Linked DNA regions of Homo sapiens: all the other regions are linked to region 5. The links are contacts of gene promoters, found by promoter capture Hi-C in blood cells and fetal thymus (Javierre and others, 2016). All regions are on one chromosome and are shown on one strand. Each heading gives the region's core, a stretch centred on a gene start or on the middle of the fragment in contact. The rest is flanking DNA. Distances are from core to core; before and after follow the strand shown. Region 1 overlaps CASR (calcium sensing receptor). Region 2 has its middle 14 kb from the start of CSTA. Region 3 overlaps CASR (calcium sensing receptor). Region 4 overlaps CASR (calcium sensing receptor). Region 5 holds the start of FBXO40 (F-box protein 40). Region 6 has its middle 61 kb from the start of CASR.

Region 1 (3,611 bases), core at 420-2,919, 700 kb after region 5:
CCTGTACTGCCTTTGCGTAGGGAAGTGGACATGAGCTGAGGAAGGCAGGCTGCTTCTAGAAGCTGGCAAATGCCAGAAAACCGATTCTCCCCTAAAACATCCAGAAAGGAATGCAGCCCTGCCAACATCTTGATTTTAGCCCAGTGACACCCTTGTAGGACTTTGGACCTCCAGATCTGTAAGATAATACATTTGTGTTGTTTTAAGCCATGAAGTTTATAGTAATTTGTTTCAGCAGCAACAGAAAACAAATACATTTGTATTGTTATCTCCTTCCCTGAGTTTTGGCAGCCAGAGCCTGTCTCAGAGATCTATTCCTGTTCTCACTGTGGTCCTCTTCCCTTCACCTAGCTCACTCCTTCCCCTCTAATATTCTATTCCTCTACATCTGCTTGGGAAAGTATAAACCTCATATTCTAAGTCTTTGCTGGCTTTGGTTATAGAAAATACACAGCCGTGTTGTCTCATTCTATTATCTGTCAGTAGCAGAAACCTGAAATTGGTAGCTTCAACAAACTAGTGTTTGCTTTTCTCTTGAATAAAGGAAGTCAGGAGGTAAATATATGATCACCTTTTAATTACTTTTTAAAATATTTCTTAGGTTTTGTTAACAATGGGAAACTGCTTACATTTCTTTTGAAAATTAAAATGAATTATAAAGTTAAAAAGATTTTCACTCAAATGAAAGTGTCCTAGAAGATTTTAAGAATTTAGGTTGGAAATTTAGAGGTGACGATCAGCATATAACATCAATACCCTGAAAGTCCCTATGATCGTCACACGTTGTCTAATTGCATTAATTTTGATTTTGGGGAAGTTGGGGCTACCCTACCTCTGTCTCCAAAAGGCACATTTCAAGGCAATGTTGTCTGTCGTTTTGCTCTGGCTGAAATCACATAGCTACGGGCTGGTTCTGCCCAGCCAGAGCTTCCCTTTGCTCATCTGCTGCATTTGAAATAATTATTGCTACAAGAATAATGGAACATCAATAAGGGGTGCTAATCACCGGAGGAGGTGGCCCTCATTTGTCTGAGCCTGAGTGGTCATTTTAGGAGTCCACTGGAGACAAGAATACTCCCAAAGGTGGGTGGAATTAGGGTAGGTGGGAGGAAGTTGCCACAGTGAGATCACAGCCTCTGGGAGATGCTGGTTTTCCTGGCCCAGATCATGGAAAAAAAACATCAAGACTTGGATGACAACTTTGAGTGACTTTGCTATTATGCAAGGAGTGAGGCAGGGGTCAGGGAAACAACAAGCACAGGGTAGAACCTGTCACAGGAATAAAGGTGCATTCCAAGGATCCAAAGAAGAACCTTAGCCTTGAGAGGAAAAGCTCAGCAAGTGGTATGAGAAATGGAGAACTGCTAGGTGAAGGCCAACAGGGCAGGAAGCCGGGCAGAGCCAGCATGAAGGTGCCTCTGGGAACTGGAGGGACAACTGTGACTCTAGCACCGAGTGGGGCTAGGGGAACCTTCTCCTCTGTTGGGAATAACCACCACATTCATCCCCTCCCCTGACCCCTGGACAAGAGTGGAGGACACTTGGAGTGGAGACAAGCAGGGGTACCTGTTTAAATCAACAGCTGAGGCCAGATGCAGAGGCTCATGCCTGCAATCCCAGCACTTTGGGAGGCTGAGGTGGGAGGATCACTTGAGCCCTAAGAGTTGAAGACCAGCCTGGGCAACATGGCAAAACCCCATCTCTACAAACAATAAAAAAAAAAAACAGCTGGACATGGTGGCATGCGCCTGTAGTGGCAGATAACTCAGGAGGCTGAGGTGGGGGGATCTGCTTGAGCCCAGGAGGTGAAGGCTGCATTGAGCTGTGATTGCACCACTGCACTCCAGCCTGGGTGACAGAGCAAGACCCTGCCAAAAAAAAAAAAAAAGAAGAAGAAAAACAATTTTATTGGTAGAGGCGGGGGGAATAATAGAGATACAGCACCAGCTCCCTGCCTCTAAAATGTGGGCACCTGGGTAACTAGATAGCGCAGGAAGTTAGAACAAATAAAAGCAGCAAACTCTGTGACTGAAGTTTCAGCACATGGATGGCAAATATTTTCAAGTTTGGTGAAAATAGGTAAGAGATCAAAGCCCAAGAATAAACCCTGGGGTCATTACAGGATTTCCTGTAAAGGCATCAGGAAATGTTTTTGGAAGAATGTGATTGTCTTCGTTGATATCAACCCAAAGATGTGGTTATTGTTCAGAATGTCCTGATTTTCTTTAAATGTTTTGTTTCTATCTGACCTCTCATTATAAATGAGAAACTTATAAATTATAAATATACACTCATTATAAATGAAGATTGCTTGGTAATGGACTAATGGATAATTGTTTCTGCTTCTTTAGGATGTTCTAAATTTTTCCCAAGTTTTGTACATTAAGCACAAAATTATAACAGGAAAATAAAGAAAAGAATTTAAAATAAACATGCAACCAAATTTTAAACAGATAAGTATATCATATTAGATAGGAATCACCATACTGGGTCAGTCACCCCTCCTCCAAATTTTTCTTTATTCTTTTTTTTTTATTATACTTTAAGTTTTAGGGTACATGTGCACAACGTGCAGGTTTGTTACATATGTATACATGTGCCATGTTGGTGTGCTGTACCCATTAACTCGTCATTTACCATTAGGTATATCTCCTAATGCTATCCCTCCCCCCTCCCCCCACCCCACAATAGGCCCTGGTGTGTGATGTTCCCCTTCCTGTGTCCATGTGATCTCATTGTTCGATTCCCACCTATGAGTGAGAATACGTGGTGTTTGGTTTTTTGTCCTTGTATTAGTTTGCTGAGAATGATGGTTTCCAGCTTCATCCATGTCCCTACAAAGGACACGAACTCCTCATTTTTTATGGCTGCATAGTATTCCATGGTGTATATGTGCCACATTTTCTTAATCCAGTCTATCGTTGTTGGACATTTGGGTTGGTTCCAAGTCTTTGCTATTGTGAATAGTGCCACAATAAACATATGTGTGCATGTGTCTTTATAGCAGCATGATTTCTAATCCTTTGGGTATATACCCAGTAATGGGATGGCTGGGTCAAATGGTATTTCTAGTTCTAGATCCCTGAGGAATCGCCACACTGACTTCCACAATGGTTGAACTAGTTTACAGTCCCACCAACAGTGTAAAAGTGTTCCTATTTCTCCACATCCTCTCCAGCACCTGTTGTTTCCTGACTTTTTAATGATCGCCATTCTAACTGGTGTGAGATGGTATCTCATTGTGGTTTTGATTTGCATTTCTCTGATGGCCAGTGATGATGAGCATTATAAATGAAGATTGCTTGGTAGTGGACTAATGGATAATTGTTTCTGCTTCTTTAGGATTTTCTAAATTTTTCCCAAGTTTTGTATATTAAGCACAAAATTATAACAGGAAAATAAAGAAAAGAATTTAAAATAAACATGCAACCAAATTTTAAACAGATAAGCATATCATATTAGATAGGAATCACCATATTGGGTCAGTCACCCCTCCTACAAATTTTTCCAGAGCTCTAATTAGCTCCCAAGAGTTTCATGGGACTTTTAAATTTCTGAACGGGCCGAGGACATAGAATAGTGGAAAAGAGGGGGATTCTAGGCAGTATGAC
Region 2 (3,373 bases), core at 671-3,170, 720 kb after region 5:
CCCAAATGCTCAGGGAGACTGGTTTGAGTAATAATAAAATCGTGGTCTCCTACACAGCCGACTCTATGTGAATTACTCTTTCTCCATTACAATTTCCCTGTCTTGATAGGGCTCTGTCTAGACAGCGAGCATGGTGAACACATTGGGCAGCTACATTTCTACAATGCACATGTGTTATTTTTATAATTAGAGAAATATTTTTAAAACTAAAAGCATTTATTGAAGTATGATTTGTACACTATGTATATGCTGTACTTCAAAAAATGGTTTTAAAAAAACAAGAGCAGGGATCTTCAATGACGAGAATAATAAAGAAAAGAAAGCTTCCCTGAAATTATCTCAGTCTCTGGTTGGGCTTTCTTGCTCACCAAGGAAATTGTTTATACTAATTAAATTTCCTGTCTGTCCCATGGAAAATGTACTTATTGTTTTAATTCTCAGATATTAATGTGCTTAATAAAAATATTTTTCAAATCATACATATACTAATTACTGATCCAAAGAGAAGACTGTACTATGATTGTACTACCACCCCACAAATGACTACAGAACCAGGAAATAACCTTGATATGTTATATAGTTGATGAATGTCCTGGCTCACAGGTTCAGTCATGAAGAACCTGTTGTGTAAACATCTGGTCTAACTACTTGTCCTAGACTTCGTAACTGCTGACCCCACCCTCTCTCTTCAGGCTCTGCTCTGTCTCATTTATTTCAGGAGAAATCTGACAGCCTCACCTTCTCACATAGGCTTGTAGGTCAGATAAGGTAGAGGAATGGTATCAGAAGCAGGAACAGCACTGGTCTTAGGCATAACTAGTGAAAAATTTTGAATGTGATGAAGAAGAGCTCCCCTGTCATTGCCAAATCTGGGCACACAAATACGGTCACACTGTGAGGTACTGTGGGTTAGAACTTCAACATATGAATTTAGGTGGGGACACAGTTCAAACCATAACAGGCATGAAGGATCAATAGAAATCAGGCTGGCAAACGGAAGCAAAAGGAAGTGTTTCCAACCTAAGCAAAGAAGCAAGAGGAATAGGGCACCTTAGGAGAACTTGATAGGAGCCAGGTCAGAGAGGGCTGTGCTAAAGACTGAGAAGTACACTCTAAGGATAACGGAAAACTATTGAAGGACTTTCATTAAGGAAATAATACAATTGGCTTTGCTTTCTAGAAGAAATATTTGGATATTGTGTGTAGAAAGAGGAGCATGGTTGCAGGAGGAGGCCAGGGGAAGCTATTGCTGTTCTTCAGCGGTGAGATAACCATGGCCTGAGCCAGGGTAGTGCAGGCCAGATGGACAGAAGTGAGGGGAGTCGATGTAACTGACAAGCACTGGGAATTCCTGGATGAGAGAGCTGAGCATGAAAGAAGACTGGAGGATAACACCCATCTTTCTGACTTGGGAAATGAGAAGACCAAGGCATGGACTGTGAAAGGATGACAATATACAGGAGAAGGTAAAGGAGTCAGTCAGAAGTAGACCCTGTAACCAAGAGACCACCCAATATTATCCACCCAACATCTCTACTAAGTGCCACATTTTACATTATGAAAGGAAAGAAGAAAAACTACTTAGGTATCCAACCTGGCTTGGTTATAGTGATGAGACTTTTATCTCTTCTATTTCAAATATTGAAAAATTAACCCAAAAATCGAAATGCATCCTTCTATCCGGTTTTACTTTCTTCATCTCCCTTTATATTTCTAGACCCTTCACAATGCAGCTGAGGACAAAAAACGTAAGGATGGTTGCTATAGTTTATAAGGTGTCTGGAAACAAAAATATGTTTCCATTTAGGAACACTAACTACATATATACCAGACACGGAGTTAAATTTTCTACATACATTTTCCATTTAATTCTCACAACCCTGTGAGGTAGTTATTATTATCTTCATTTTACAGACAAGGAAACAGATGCTCAGAAAGGTGAAGTCACCTGCCCAGGTTTACACAGCTATGCAGATTATTGAATTCAGCTGTCCCTCACTCCAAAGGGACATGCTCAGCTCTCTCATTCAGGAATTCCCAGTGCTTGTCAGTTACACCGACTCCCCTCACTTCTGTCCATCTGGCCTGCACTACCCTGTTAACTGCTGTGGTACTCTACCTCCAGAAAGCCCTCTTTTGAAAATTGGGATGAAGTTAAAGCCATTCCACAAAAGCCTTCTTTTTTTCATACCTTTTTTTACTGAAAAATAATAAAATATTCTTAGTAAAACATCCCACGAACTTGAGCTCCATTTTAGAATACGGTATGAATAATGCTCCTGGAACTGTGCAACCCAGCAGGTCCATAACTGTGCTGGCTGGGATCAAACTACCAGGCCTCAGGCTTAATTCAGGCCATGTATAGAGACTGCCAACCAACTCACTTATACGAACAGACTTGTTAAGTTACTGATCAAACTGTCCAAGCATCTGGGCCATCCCTTGGCCAGCAATGCAGAGAAACTGGAGCCCTGTGATCATCAGGGAATATAACCTTGAACTCCTGGCTGTTCTGTTGTATTTTCTTTACTTTGGATTCTTTTTTTTTTTTTCTTTTTTTTTTTTTGACGAAGTCTCACTCTGTTGCCCAAGCTGGAGTGCAGTGGCGTGATCTCGGCTCACTACAATCTCCACCTCCCAGGTTCAAGCGATTCTCCTGCTTCAGCCTCCTGAGTAGCTGAGACTACAGGCAGGCGCCACCGTGCCCGGCTAATTTTTGTATTTTTAGTAGAGACGGGATTTCACTATGTTGGCCAGGCAGGTCTTGAACTCCTGACCTCATGATCCACCCGCCTCAGCCTCCCAAAGTGCTGGGATTACAGGCGTGAGCCACAGCGCCTGGCCTAAAACTTGACAAAGACATGTTTATCCAATGCCCTTCAAGGACTCCAGAAGTCCATGTTGGCTGGTTGCCCTCTTCTCCCAATGAGAAAGTGGTGAGATCTATGAATTTGTTCACATATTTGCTGGGCAGCTGCTGTGTTTCATAATCTGGGAGATGTGATGGCTAACAATCAAGACAACAGTTTCTGCCATGGAAGAGATTATAATCAGATCAGCAAGAAGATAAACAGAAAATATATGTGTAATAACTGAGATAACAGGAATATGTAGTACAAACCAAGAACTAGAGGAAACCACAGAAGGCTTTGGGTAGTGTGGTTTTTGAAAGCAGTATTGCATGTAGATTAATGGAGAACAGAAGGAATGACATCCTTTTCAAGGGGCATTGTATGAACAAGGAGACAGGAGCAAGAATGAGAATGAGAAAGAGGTGCAAGAGGATCTAAGAGGACCCAGCTAGAGAGAAACTCTGAGAGAGAATCTGGTTCAGGAAGACCTGTGAGTACTTGGAGGCTATTCTTAAAATTGT
Region 3 (3,345 bases), core at 726-3,225, 650 kb after region 5:
GAAGCTTGCCCTTTGATTACTAAACCTCACATAGTTTTACAATGATTTGTGAATTCCAGCTCCTGTTCATGATAACATTGGCCATAATGATTCAAACGTTCATGTGTCAGAACGTTTCAGTGTAAACCAGATAAACTTCCCAGGTCCCTTCTATCTCTAAAATTCTGTATTTTAGATTAATGACCTGATGTGTCTACCCACTCAATTAATAAAGCAAGAATGACTTTTCCAGACCCTTTCCTGTTAATTACACAGAGAGTTTCAACTGGGGACAGTTCTTATTGCTCACAGCAAAAATCCAGATTTATTGGTTTGTTTTCGTGTTTATATCCCTGTTGCTGTTAATAAAAATGAAAGGTTTAATGTGTTGAGGAAATCAGGGTAAAATATGTGCAAGAATTTAAAATAATGCACACGTAATGTTAGAACACTAAAATGCATGCTTTTGGTTTCTATTTTAGCTACAGCGGAGCCACAAACTTGGCTTACAGCTTCCTAACACTCAAAGAAGGAAACAGGAGAAGAGAGAAGATTTGTAATGCCTATAAAATAATTTTGGCCAGGTTTTCCAAAGAAAACCAGAATTTCCATGTGCTTAGAAAGATGTCCCCACGATGTGCTAGAACAGGCTTCTATCGGCGCTTGAGAGCCGATGGTTAAATATTCAGATTTTTTACAAATATGTTGTTAAACCATTGGTAGCTTGAAACTGACCATGGTGGGAATATTTAGCATACACCACAAGTCAGGTCTTGTTTTTCTTTTAGAAGCCAGACTACAAGCACACCACCACATGTCCCCAGTGGTCCTCAGACAAAGACACTGTGTGAGGTCAGGAGAGTTGCAAGTGGATGGGGAAAGGCTCAGTGTACAACTTTCTATGTACAATAGAAACCCATCCCTCAGGAGTAGCGGAGAACAGAAACATATGCCTGACCAGAGAATGACTTCAAAGTTACATCAGCAGTCACCCACCCCACCTGAGTCCTTCTTTCCAATAATACCCTTTGGAATTTCATACCTGGGATTACAAAAACTGCTATGCCCATTGAGGGGCAGACATATCTCCCCATTCAAAGATACACCTAAACAAATGCGAGAATCTCAGATTACAGACTTTATGCTTTCCACTCAGTCAGCCCTTCCAAGCCCATGTTTCACGGCATCATGAAAAGTGTCCTTCAGGGAAGAAAAAAAGTGTCCCATACCAAAATAAGCAATAATCTTTATTGCAGGACTTCTCAGAGCCTTTAAGGAGGCATATGTGCTCCTGTGGCAGAGTGTACATTAGTTCCCAAACTTGTTTTACCCCAGAACACTTCCTGGTGACACATCTTGGGACATCATACTGAAAAATGCCACCCTGGGTAGTCAGGGTTCCTTATGATTTGGAGAGGCAACGCCAGGATGTTATTCCACAGAAATGTTTCTTTTATGTAGGACTTGAGGCTCTGGCATTTTTCTTTATAAAAACATGAGTTGCATATCTTCGCTTTTCAAATGAACCATTTCATTAACTCTGTTGGTGTTCATACATCCGTCAGCAGAGCTGACTTAAGGCATAAAGGAAACAGTTCAGGACAAGAAGTTTCTTAACTTCCTGTGGGCTATGTCGCCAGCAACTCACTCAGTCCTATGTGGACACAGAGTTTGTTATGTTGCCGGCAGTACACACAAGTATGCACCCACTCAACCATCATCATGGAGCCCCTCCATGTTCCAGGCCGCGGATGGGACAGACCTGGCCCTGTCTTCAAGGAGCTCAGGATGCAGCATTAATGAATGTCAGCTTCCTCTATTTACAGCCTTTCTTTGCTTTGTCTAGGCTTCTGTTTCCCCACTTTGCTCTGTGCCCTGTGCTGCTCCTCACCACTCTTGTTCATCCTTTTCCCTCCCTTCCCTGATAGCTTTTTCCAATGACTCACAAGAACCCACCCAGCTCAGCTGCTTTTCATTACGCTCCTGTCTTTGCATTTTTCCAACTCAATTAAGCCATTACCAGAACTAAATGAGGCATGGACTCCCCAAAAGTCACACCTGTTGTCAGGGAGATGGAGGGCAAGACCATGTGCAGCTGGCAGGCAGACAGCAGAAGCCGGGCTTGGGCTTGCGGGAGGCAGCCAAGGGTGACCGGGCAATTTGTGTTTCCCCCAGTGCCGAAAGAGGGCCCTCATTTTAAAACAACATGTGCCTTGCTTTGGTACAGAAGGAATGAAGTCTGATATAGAACTAGGGATGGCCGTATTGGTGATGGCAGGTAAGAGTCCCTAATTCTTTGGCAAATGTGCACCAGCTGTGTATAGAAACCCATATTGTGGATGTCTCTTCAGCAAGAGGTAAAGGAAGCTGCAACTACAGCCAGGCACGTGAGTTTGGTGATTATTGATTAAACTTTTTCAGGTTTATTTTTCCTGTTCACCCTCATTAAAACATACACATTTCACCTTTCTGCAATAGTGGCTTCAGACCCTACTGTTAGTATCTTTATGATCATTGTGACGAAAGAGAGTAAAGATTACAGTACAATAAACCAGAGACATAGCAGTGTACTCACGTTATGGAGATAAATTCTATTGGAAATCAAATTTGGTCTTATAATTCTCTTTTTTCTAGGCAACCTAGAATTTTTTTTTTTTTTTTGCCATCTAGGAATTCAAAAATAGTAGCTTTTGAGCTTGCTGTGCCTTTAATTTACTGAGTGATTTTATGTTCAGAAGGTCTGCGCCTGGGTTTTCTCTATTTGAAATGTGAGCAAAATCATTTTGCTCTAGAGATTCACAATTTCCAGAAATGTTGAGGCCAAGAGGTGAGAGTAGGGGTGGTTTTTATTTGGAAGAAAATTGAAATGTGGCAGTGTTCACTCCTGACGTTGTTTTGCTATCCTCTGTTAACTTGTTTTGACTCCGGAACTTGGATTAGCCACGTAGCTACTCTTTGGACAACAAGTTCAACAGACATTTTTAGAGCATCCATTTAGTACCAGGTTCTTTGTTTGATGCTGAGGATGCAGCTATGATCATGGAGAAGCCTCTGCCTACAGGAACCATCAGTCTCGTGGGGTGACCCCTTCCTTGTCCTGTCCAGGAATTGCCCAACCAGCCTCTGGTCTTTACTGTGTACACTTCATACATTTGTTCAACGAATATTTGTGAATCATTTGTGCCAGGTGCTGTGCTGGGTGCTAGGCAACAATGGTGAAGAAAAGAGACAGGCCTTGGCCTCATGAAGTTTCTGGTCCCCACCTTGACTTAATTCTCTTTCCCAGCAATCACCAGAGAATATCACTATTTGCTCTGTGCTCCCTCAACACTTAAACCATGCCTCTTTATAACATTTAGATCACCG
Region 4 (3,695 bases), core at 713-3,212, 670 kb after region 5:
CAATGTTCTTTTGACTTAGGTTCATGACATTAAATGACATGATATATGTAAAAGCAATTTGTAAACTTTCAAGCTCTAAACAGATGTGTGATTATTATAGTAGGATTTCAGTACAGCTCTAATTAATCCATGAATTAGGTAAAAATGATAACTAGAACACCTTTGTATACAGAACCCAACCACCACAAACCCTTTGGGAAGGATACCAAGAAGCAAAAAGCACACAACTTGTATCAGTCACTGTAGAGATTCTCATGAAAGACAAGGAGTGACTGTCTAAGTTGGTCAAATAGGCCAGAATCTTCAAGTTCTCAGCCCTTCTTATATGGGAACCTCTTACCCAACCATCACTGTTGGCTAAAGTTTCTAACTTCTGTGGGGTACTCAGAGCTTCTTTCTTCACACGGAACCCCTACCTTGCCAAGATAGAGGTGCTGTAATAAAGGTCAGGCACTCTAAAGTCTTCAGGAGTGATGATGCTAAGGTATGGGGTTTTAAGTAGGAGGAGTAAGGGAGCAATCTTCTAGGTGGTTGTTACTATTGTCTTTTCTTTCTTACCTCTCACGTCCAATGCAAGGAGGACCTCAGTTCTTGAAAAAACTGCAAGACAAGAGTAGGGTTGAAGGAAAAACAGGCTTCAAGGGGGAAACTTGGCAGTTCTACTCTTCAATGGCTCCTCTTCCAGATAAGGAAATAAAATACAGATGGTCAAGACCAGACCTTGGACCTGTGAGAAAAAAAAAAAAGCCATGACAGGCTACAGTCACAACTGGGACTTTTAGTTGTGTAATAGAAAGCCCTAACCAAATTGGCATAAACAAAAAAAGAGGAAATGTAGTGAGTGGGTCATGTCACTAAAAATCTCAGAAGTGTTCCAGGTACAGCTAGGTATTTTCATCTCATCTTTCTGTTCTTCATTCCCCAGGGTTAGCAATTTTCAGCTTCTGTAGCAGCTTGAAGCTAGGATCTCCTTACTTCCCAAGATATCCTGTAAAAGTTCCAGAAACCACATTTATTGACCATTCCTAAGTCATGGATCCATCCCTGATGCTAGCAGTCCTCCAGACTACATAGACTTAGAGTAAGGGGGGAGTGAATCTCCAGTGGGAAGTCAGGATGCCATTACCAAAAGGAGGAAGAAATAGAAGCAAAGCAGCCAACATTCAAAATGTCCACTACACAGACACTTCACCCAACCATGGCCCAGGTAAAGATATGTTCTCCTGACTCTTACATGGTCTGGAAAAATCTCCCCAGGAGACAGCACAGATAGGAAAATGGGATCAGAACTCTAGGGAGGAATGACATGGGAAATTGGCCAAAATGTCCTGAGTGCTTGGTGTGAGTCTCCTTTGAGCCTCAGGAACCCAGGCTGTTGGATGGGCGTTCCAGAATTTGAGGTCTTGGCCAGGAGATGAACTAGCAATTATTCATTCTCATTATTAAGACCTATATCTTCATCAGGAAATCAACTAGCAATTATTCATTCATTCTCAATATTAAGATCTATATGGAAACTTATCACCTATAATCTAATCCAAGTCTCCAGCTGGAACTCCATGTCTGCCTTCTCTCAGTTCTTCCCCTATAAGCCAACCTGCATGACACCTCCTCACAAATCACTCATTAGTTTTTGGCACAGCATCTTTGCATAGGCCATAGCCCACACCAGAAGGGCCATCAATTTTTATCTCTGCTGTCATTTTCCACCAGGAACATTTAAATTGTTTTCAAAATCCACTTTCCCCTGGAAGTCTTTTCAAATCGTATTCCCACAACACATTTTCTGATCATTCTCGCTTCCTCATTTTTGATGTTTATATACCCAGCTTAAGCTTCCACAGCTCTTTAATTGACTGAAATAGACACTTATTAGTTAAAATTCTGGTTATAAGGGTCAATCACAATTTTTTTCCTTTCTTTCTCCCCAAAAAAATATTTATCAGTCAACTCATATGCCTCAAAAGTAGCACTAGCAGGTGATTTATGAGCATACAACTCACAATTGCCTCCTGACCTCTTCTTGGAGACCCCCAAGCCCTCCTCACATCCCTTCCCAGCTCTCTCTTCACTACTCCTTTGCTGTACTCTAAGCTTCATAAGATCCAGAACCATGCCTGTATTGTTCAGTACTATGTTCAGAATGCCTGTCGCTGGAATATTCATTGAATGAATGAATGAGTGAATAGCAGTCTAGTTGATTTGACCTGTCAACACTACCTATAGGCCTTTGCAGGGAACCGTTTGAGCCAACAACCCATTCTTGAATCAATCACTGTGGCCAAGGTATTCTAGGCTCTGTTTGGACAAGCTTTGGTCACGTGCCCACTATCAAGTTTGAGTGGAACATCATGTAAGTATGAAATCACCTTCTTTCTTCTCTCAGGATGATCATGCACAAGGTGTGCTTCCTACTCTCCTGCACCTCACACCAACACTCACTAGTCAGAAAACAGGCGTGCAGCCATGGTGAAGATGGAAGTCAGATGGAGCTGATCTTTCTAGGAATTCCTGGTACTGCTGGAAGTTGGGGAATGGGGGATAAATTGTGAGGACAGCCAGAGAAGATGGAAGGGAGATAAGAAAACATGGCTGGCGTTAGAGAAGGGAATTGGGCCTGGATCTTCCCCATGCTCTTACCACAGGAACTGGGCAAGATAATGAACTTCATTATCTTGTTCATTATCTGTGTGACCTGGCCCTCATTATCTGTATAAGAGCTGGAAGTCCTAGACCAGAGTGGGGGGGTTTCTAGTCTCTAATGTTCAGTTTAATTCAATTGACGCTACTAAGAATGTGTGCCAAGAGGTGATTTCCATTTATGCTTATAATGAGCAACCGTTTGACTTTAAAATCTTTTAGGGGAAATACCCTAAAAGACCACAAGATGGGAATATTATGGCATAAAAGAGTATGTTAGCTTCTAAGTGCATGCATGTCCTGTATTTGCCCCTCTTTTAGATCTATGTGTCTTTCTTGGTGGTGTTTTCTTTGTGAGCCTGTAAGTCTCTTTGTGTCTGTATGTTATGTTCTATGTTCAGATCTTTTTGTTTGTTTGTGTTTTGTTTTTTTGAGGCAGAGTCTTGCTCTGTCACCCAGGCTGGAATGCAGCGGCCCGATCTTGGCTCACTGCAAACTCCGCCTCCCAGGTTCAAGCAGTACTCCTATGTTTGGATCTTTCTACTAGCTTTTTTTGTTTCTCTTCCCCTTCGTTTATTCTTTTTCCTCATATTACTCCCCAAATAAAATAAATAATTTGGAAGCATATAATATTGGATAATAATCTCAAGTAAAATTTTATATTTCATTTTAAAAGGAACTGTCAGTTCCTTTTTAAAAGCAAAAGAAGCCAGGGGCAGTGGCTCACACCTATAGTCTCAACACTTTGGGAGGCCACAGTGGGTGGATCATGAGGTCAGAAGTTCGAGACCAGCCTGGGTAACGTGGTGAAACCCTGTCTCTACTAAAAATACAAAAAATTAGCCGGGTGTGGTGGCAGGCACCTGTAGTCCCAGCTGCTCAGGAGGCTGAGGCAGGAGAATTGCTTGAACCTAGAAAGCATAAATTGCAGTGAGCCAAGATCGCACCACTGCACTCCAGCCTGGGCAACAGAGCGAGACTCCGTCTCAAAATAAATAAATAAATAATAAAAAGAGTGTTCTCTCTCGGGCAGATATCTAAATTATCTTCTAACT
Region 5 (3,550 bases), core at 204-2,703:
CTATTAGAACTAATAAACCAGTTCAGCAAAGTTTCAAGATACAAGATCAGTGTAGAAATTTTTTACAATTTTCAACTGCTATTTGCTCATTCCAAATAAGTTTACCTCCAAGGACATATATGTATGAAGAATCCAGGGGAAAGGTTAATTCGATGGCTGTTAATCACAGCCAAATTTAGCACATCTGCTGTTAGTCAAAATACATTCAAATACATTCAAATAACAGCTGGCATTGTGGAGCACTTGGCATGTGGTACATATCATTCATGTGCCTTATGTGTACTGACACAGTTACCTGTGGTCGCACCAAGTATCATCGCCATTTCACAATGGGGAAAACTGAAATAGAAAATGGTTAAGTAAATTTGTCAAAATCACATACCTAATCCCAGCACTTTGGGAGGCTGAGGTGGGAGGATCATGAGGTCAGGATTTCGAGACCAGCGTGACAAACATGGTGAAACCCCGTCTCTGCTAAAAATACAAAAATTAGCCAGGTATGGTGGTACGTGCCTGTAATCCCAGATACTCAGGAGGCTGAGGCAGGAGAATCACTTGAAGCCAGGAGGTGGAGGTTGCAGTGAGCCGAGATCACGCCACTGCACTCTATCCTGGGCAACAGAGCGAGACTCTGTCTCAAAAAAAAAAAAAAGAAAAAGAAAACACCAAAGCCGGGATTCTATATTTTTTTCACTCACAAGATCCTGAATGAGTTTATCTGAAGATGATAAGATAAAGAACGCTAGACTGAGAGTTAAACAAGCTCTCTGGGGCTTTCCTCTGGCTCTTCCACTAACGAGATGTGTGACCTTGGATGAGCAATTTCCCTTTTCTGAATCTCTGTCTCCTCATCTGTAAAAAGAGGGAGCTGGACTAAATGACAGCTAAAGCCTCCTACAACCTCTAATTCTCTCACACTGGATTTACTCTACACCTGGTATCTGAATTACAAACTCTCCCTTTTCCAGGAAAGATGAAAGGACCAGGGGAGGACAGACACTTACTTGTCACGACAAGAGATAGGAGAAACTGAAGCAGGACACCATGTCATTTGCACAAGTTGCTGCTTCAGCCAGTGATGGGTTTAGGTGAGGAGCATGGTTATAATTAGAGCAGCAGCCAGTCCTGAAGGCTGTGCCAGCCTCCTTCAGCACAGCTGGGCCTGCCGACTGCACATGCAGGAATCTGAGAGGCTGTTCTGGCCTTGAAAATGATCCTTCTTAAAAGGATTTTCCTCCTTCCTCAAGGGAAAGAAAACCTATTGATATAAAACTTCACTTCCCATTCAGTTTCCCCTGCTAAATGCCACTCCAGTAGAGACTGAGTGTTGATAAATACAGGGGAAGGAAAAAGTCGTAAGCTGAGCCTGGTCACATTGCCCCTTGTGATATCGTTTTATTTTTAACTTCGCAACACTTGGACTATTTCTGTTGAAGTTTTCTCTCCTTTCCCTGCCTTCCCAACAGAACGCTGTCCTCTACTGCAGCTGATGCAACCCAGCCACCTCCCGGCAATCCGCTTACTTGCAATCAAGGGTTCAGGTGCAAGCAGATGCTGACTCAGCCTGTTCCATTAAGGTAAGTATTCAAACAGGAGCAGGTGCACCATGACGAGGACATTCAGTGGTGAATATGCAGATGAAGCTGAGCCGCATATCACTTTTGTGTCCTGTGGAAGAGGATTGTTAAGCAAATTAGTTATGTAAAGATGTGGGGGAAAGGCTGGCACTGAGAATGAGATCCAGCCGTGTGTAAATTTCTGTTTCCATTTCAAGAGCAGGTAGAGTACTTGCTTTCTGACAGCTTAGGTTCTTTCTTCTATAATCAACAAGAGTAGTTATGATATCTGTAAAGTTACAACATGGTGATGGGTGGGGGGATCTGGGGAAGTGGAGGAGGTGGTGAGGAAACAAGTGGAAGGCCTAGAATCCAGGATTTCTATTCCCTTTTCTTTCTTTTTTGAGACAGTCTTGCTCTGTCACCCAGGCTGGAGTGCAGTGGCACCATCTTGGCTCACTGCAGCCCCTACCTCCCAGGTTCTAGTGATTCTCCTGCCTCAGCCTTCCGAGTAGCTGAGACTACAGGCACATGCCACCACATCCGGCCAATTTTTGTATTTTTTTAGTAGAGACAGAGTTTCACCTTGATGGCTAGGCTGGTCTTGAACTCCTGGCCTCAAATGATCCGCCCACCTCAGCCTCCAAAAGCGCTGGGATTACAGGTCTGAGCCACTGTGCCTGGCCCAGAATTTCTATTATTTATTTATTTATTTAATTCATTGTTATTATTTTTTTGAGACAGAGTCTCACTCTGTTGCCCAGGCTGGAGTGCAGTGGTGCAGTCTCAGCTCACTGCAACCTCCACCTTCTAGGTTCAAGAGAGCCTCCTGCTTCAGCCTCCTGAGTAGCTGGGACTACAGGCCTGTGCCACCACGCCTGGCTAATTTTTGTATTTTTAGTAGAGATGGGGTTTCACCATGTTGGCCAGGCTGGTCTTGAACTCCTGGCCTCAAGTGATCCACCCGCTTCGGCCTCCCAAAGTGCTGAGAATACAAGCATGAGCCGCTGTGCCTGATCAGAATTTCTGTTTTCTAAAGTCTAAATGCTGTGATCTTTTCTCCAGTCAACATTTGCTATGTTTGCTTGCAAGTCATTCTCATGTAGCTTAAAATTTCGTCTGCTGTGTCATACTACTGGTTAATAAGCACAACTGTATTTTCTGTATATACTATTCAAACTCCGCAGAGTTTAACACCTTTTTTTCGCCAACAATATTCTCTAAGTGTGGCCCTCTTCTCCCCAGCTCTCTTGAGTCCAAAATGCATCCATGAAATATAAGTGAAATATTTCTCAAGTTGAAAAACTTATATAGGCTTATGCACCAAAACCAAAGATTGTTACAAGCTTGAACAATTTTGCATATTCAGAGGGATAAAAGTAAAATGACTAATGATACTTGAGGTATCAAAAGTTATAACTTTAGACAGATAGTTTCTCGCTTCTGGAATAACTGTATAGTGTTGCATGCACTAAAAATTGGCAAGGTAAGGGAGCAGTGTTTATTTTCTTGTTTTTCACTGGTTCAAAGTTCAGCTAAGGACATCCTGGGAAGTGGCCTATGCAGCAAAAGGGATTCTGTACACTCTGACCTTTGATGTGTACAGGCTAAAGCCACCGATGCCAAGTAAAAGGAGACCTAAACTAACTATTCAGATACCTTAACTCCTGGTTCCTTCCTGCCTGTCTCTGTAACCTCCATATGTACCCCAAGACTCTGCTATAGGTGTCTGGGTTATCATTATGCCTGTTTCCTGGGCACAAGCAAATTCACTGTGTATAATCACCTAACTTCATTTAATTTTTCCAGGGCCTCCACAGCACCAAGGTCTCCAAGGTGTATGCTGGGATGCTGTCCTGGTGAAACTAGGGTGTGTTGGCTTACAAGTAACCAAGCAGACAGATTGAGTCCCAGCTACCCCTAGATAATCCAGTTACTTTAGCACTATCTTGGCCAATGCAACTGTAATTTAATAGAATAGTACTGATACAAAA
Region 6 (3,881 bases), core at 838-3,337, 530 kb after region 5:
TTCCCTGCTCTGTCCTCTGAATGTACTTCCTTTCTCTTTACATCTCTATGGCTAGAAGCCTCTCACGCATCCTGTATCTTCTCCTCCTCCCTTTTCCCTACCATTATTTGAGAAAGGAGGCTTGTATACTTCTATATGTTTATCTCAGTAATAAGTCATAAAAAATCAAGTAAGAATGGTTGTTTTTGAGGACAACTAAGAAATCTGGAATAAGGAAGGGAAGCTTACTTTTGAGTTTGTAACCTGTAGTGTGTAATTTTTTAATTATGTACTTACATGTACATTAAACAAAAGCTTAATGTAAAAATATTCCTTGAAAACACCATGATTATAAAATAAATGCATATATACACATACAGCATGTGAGAGGAGCCAGGAAAACTCTGGAAAAAAGAAAATTACCTAGACTCTGTGAGGGCAGGAATGTGTTTAATTTCTCTCCAATGGATCCTCAGACAACTAAGATAGTTGTCTATTCTATTGTCCATCTTTTTGTCTTTTGTTGTATTTCTTAAAGATTCCCTCAACTTTATCTTCTAACTTCTGTTGTATTTTTATTTCTGCTATCATGTATTCTTTTCAGAATTCTTTTTTGTTCTCTCAAAACATATCTGTTTAAAGATTGAATGAAATATTAACATGCCCTTTGGTGAGAACATCCCTCCTTTGTATATTAAATTCTCTGAACTGCTGTATTCTAAGACTAGGGGAAAGAAAAAGAAGGTTGAAAGAGGTCATTAGGCAGAATAGTACTAGCTAACATTATTTCACATTTACCATATACCCGTCACTCATCTAAACCTTTAAACTCATTATCCTATTTAATCCTCACAATGACCCTGTGACGTAGGTAATGGAATATTATGCCCATTATGCTGATGAGAAAATATAAACACAGAGATAAGTCAGAGTAATTTACCCAACATTGTTAACTTTGTAAGTGGCAGAGCTTTGTAACAGGCAGAGGTTGGAACAGTTTGGAGGGCTCAGAAGAAGACAGGAAGATGTAGGAAAGTTTGGAACTTCCCAGAGCCTTGTTGAATGGCTTTGACCAAAATGCTGATAGTAATATGGACAATGAAATACAGGCTGAGGTGGTCTCAGATAGAGAAGAGGAACTTGTTGGGAACTGGAATAAAGGTGACTCTTGCTATGTTTTAGCAAAGACACTGGTGGCATTTTGCCCCTGCCCTAGAGATTTGTGGGACTTTGAACTTGAGAGAGATGATTTAGGGTATCTGGTGGAAGAAATTTCTAAGCAGCAAAGCATTCAAGATGTAACTTTCGTGCTGTTAAAAGCATTCAGTTTTATGTATTCCCAAAAATATGGTTTGGAATTGGAACTTATGTTTAAAAGTTTGGAAAATTTGCAGCCTGACAATGTGATAGAAAAGAAAACCCATTTTCTGAGGAGAAATTCAAGCCAGCTGCAGAAATTTGCATAAGTAACAAGGAGCCAAATGTTAATTGCCAAGATAATGGGAAAATGTCTCCAGGCCATGTCAGAACTCTTTACAGCAGCCCTTCTCATCACAGGCCAAGAGGCCTAGGAGGGAAAAACGGTTTCCTGGCCAGGCCCGAGGCCTTGCTGCTTTGTGCAGTTTTGGGACTTGGTGCCCTGCATCCCAGCCATGGCTAAAAGAGGCCAAGATACAGTTCAGGTCATGGCTTCAGAGGGTGCAAGCCCCAAGGCTTGGCAGCTTCAGCACAGTGAACCTGCAGGTGCACACAAGTCAAGAATTGAGGTTTGGGAACATCCCCGTAGATTTCAGAGGATGTATGGGAACACCTGGATGTCCAGGCAGAAGTTTGCTGCAGGGGTAGAGCTCTCATGGAGAACCTCTGCAAGGGCAGTGCAGCAGGGAAATGTGGGGTTGGAGCCCCCACACAGAGTCCCCACTGGGGCACTGCCTAGTGGAGCTATGAGAAGAGGGCCACCATCATCCAGACCCCAGAATTGTAGGTCCACCAACCATGCGCCTGGAAAAGTCACCGACACTCAATGCCAACCCATGAAGGAAGTCAGGAGGGGGCTGTACCCTGCAAAGCCAAAGAGGCCAAGCTGCCCAAGGCCATGGGAGCCCACCTCTTGCATCAGCATGACCTGGATGTGAGAGATGGAGACAAAAGAGAGATCATTTTGGAGCTTTAAGATTTCACTGCCCCACTGGATTTTGGACTTGCATGGGGCCTGTAGCCCCTTTGTTTTGGCAAATTTCTCCCATTTGGAATGGGTATATTTACCCAATGCCTGTACCCCCATTGTATCTAGGAAGTTACTAACTTTCTTTTGATTTTACAGGCTCATAGGCGGAAGGTGCTTGCCTTGTCTCAGATGAGACTTTGGACTTGGGACTTTTGGGTTAATGCTGGAATGAGTTAAGACTTTGGGGGACTGTTGGAAAGGCATGATTGTATTTTGAAATGTAAGGACATGAGATTTGGGAGGAGCCAGGGGTGAAATTATATGGTTTGGCTGTGTCCCCATCCAAATCTCATCTTGAATTGTAGTTCCCATAATCTCCACGTGTTGTGGGAGGGACCCAGTGGGAGGTAATTGAATCATGTGGGCAGTTACCCCCATGCTGCTGTTCTCATGATAGTGAGTGAGTTCTCATGAGATGTGATGGTTTTATAAGAGGCTTTTCTGCCTTTTGCTTGGCATTTCTCCTTCCTATCATCCTGTGAAAGAGGATATGTTTGCTTCCCCTTCCACCATGATTTAAGTTTCCTGAGGCCTCATCAGCCCTGCTGAACTGTGAGTCAATTAAACCTCCTTCCTTTATAAATTAACCAGTCTTGGGTGTGTCTTTATTAGCAGTGTGAGAAGGAACAAATACATTAACCCAGGCTTGAAAGCAAAGAGTCATCTCTGATGACTGCATTCAACCTTTCCCTCAGCACCCACTGCTCACCCCTTCGCTCCTGCCTCATTCTGTTATCAGTCATCACTAGGCCAGGAAAGCATTCCTCCCACTTTCACACCCACCTCTTATTTTCTCATTCAGGACCTTTTTTATTCATACCAAAAACATGTCAGTCACCTCCCAACTGATCCCAGTCTCCTATCTCTCTTACCCTTCATTCTGTCCAACACACCAAGAGAAACAAGAAGGTAAATAGTGAAAAGGTCTCCCTCACATTCCCTTTCCCTAGCCACACAACTCTGATCTCCAGCTTCCTGGGTATCCATTCGTAGTCACAGTATGCCTATTTTTAAGTGTGTGTACACACACATACACATATTCCCCTTACTCAGGCAGATTTGGTTTTACTTTACACTACAGTCTAAAGAAATCAGAATACTCTTGCTAGGATGATTGACATCAGTCTTCAGTGTAATCCTTCATATTAAAAACATACATCTGTATGTATAAGTTTTCATTCTCACCAATATTCTAGCATCATTGTGGATCTTATAATAAAAGTGAGATTCCATTGGATTTTATTATGTCTACCTGTTCACTTCAGAAGAAAAGATACTTACAGATATAGAATCCTTCACTGTCCTTAGTCACAAAGTTTAAAACCTGCTCCAATCTGAACAAGTTACACCCTAGGTCTGGTGAGCAACAGTTACCCTGAAGGGATCTCCCAATTCCTATGTCCATATAGTTGTCTTTCTTGATTTACCCCCTCACTTTGGTGGTGCATATCCTTCAGTAGCTTGATCCAGCAGCTTTCTGAGAAAGGATCTGTGGGAAATATATTTAATGAAATTTTATGTATCTGAAAATGTCTTTATCTTACTTTCCTGCTTAACTATTAATAATTTTGCTTGGTATAAAAATTTGGGTTGGAAATTATTTTCATTGTCCATAGTTTCCAGTGTTGCTCTTGAGAAATCTACAAATATTCTGACTCCTTATCTTTTTACATGA

Evidence for each region. Contacts are between HindIII fragments. The CHiCAGO score rates a contact against its expected background, and 5 or more counts as called.
Region 1: a contact is called between a fragment that was not itself captured here and the fragment with the promoter of FBXO40 in region 5, in 1 of 17 cell types (erythroblasts). The highest score is 5.9, in erythroblasts.
Region 2: a contact is called between a fragment that was not itself captured here and the fragment with the promoter of FBXO40 in region 5, in 4 of 17 cell types (erythroblasts, naive CD8 T cells, total CD4 T cells and 1 more). The highest score is 7.2, in erythroblasts.
Region 3: a fragment that was not itself captured here is called in contact with the fragment with the promoter of FBXO40 in region 5 in 1 of 17 cell types (erythroblasts); the score reaches 5.5 in erythroblasts.
Region 4: a fragment that was not itself captured here is called in contact with the fragment with the promoter of FBXO40 in region 5 in 1 of 17 cell types (total B cells); the score reaches 5.4 in total B cells.
Region 6: a contact is called between a fragment that was not itself captured here and the fragment with the promoter of FBXO40 in region 5, in 1 of 17 cell types (erythroblasts). The highest score is 5.1, in erythroblasts.

What each region holds. Positions count from the first base shown.
Region 1 is chr3:122,288,208-122,291,818 of GRCh38, forward strand. CASR (calcium sensing receptor) reads left to right here. Exons shown (of 7, transcript NM_000388.4): 7 at 1-3,422. Among named protein-coding and RNA genes, the nearest start is that of CSTA, 35 kb to the right of the region's middle. The HindIII fragment of the contact is 3,949 bases long and covers 1-3,611 here.
Region 2 is chr3:122,309,933-122,313,305 of GRCh38, forward strand. No RefSeq gene overlaps it. Among named protein-coding and RNA genes, the nearest start is that of CSTA, 14 kb to the right of the region's middle. The HindIII fragment of the contact is 3,199 bases long and covers 322-3,373 here.
Region 3 is chr3:122,245,985-122,249,329 of GRCh38, forward strand. All of the region lies in intron 1 of CASR (calcium sensing receptor), which reads left to right. Among named protein-coding and RNA genes, the nearest start is that of CASR, 64 kb to the left of the region's middle. The HindIII fragment of the contact is 3,946 bases long and covers 3-3,345 here.
Region 4 is chr3:122,263,376-122,267,070 of GRCh38, forward strand. All of the region lies in intron 4 of CASR (calcium sensing receptor), which reads left to right. Among named protein-coding and RNA genes, the nearest start is that of CSTA, 60 kb to the right of the region's middle. RefSeq lists a silencer at 1,712-1,813. The HindIII fragment of the contact is 259 bases long and covers 1,834-2,092 here.
Region 5 is chr3:121,591,926-121,595,475 of GRCh38, forward strand. It overlaps FBXO40 (F-box protein 40), which reads left to right and starts at 1,454. Exons shown (of 4, transcript NM_016298.4): 1 at 1,454-1,577. RefSeq lists enhancers at 811-2,010, 824-1,474, 1,475-2,126 and a silencer at 1,397-1,691. The HindIII fragment of the contact is 3,467 bases long and covers 1-2,900 here.
Region 6 is chr3:122,121,199-122,125,079 of GRCh38, forward strand. No RefSeq gene overlaps it. Among named protein-coding and RNA genes, the nearest start is that of CASR, 61 kb to the right of the region's middle. The HindIII fragment of the contact is 3,590 bases long and covers 293-3,881 here.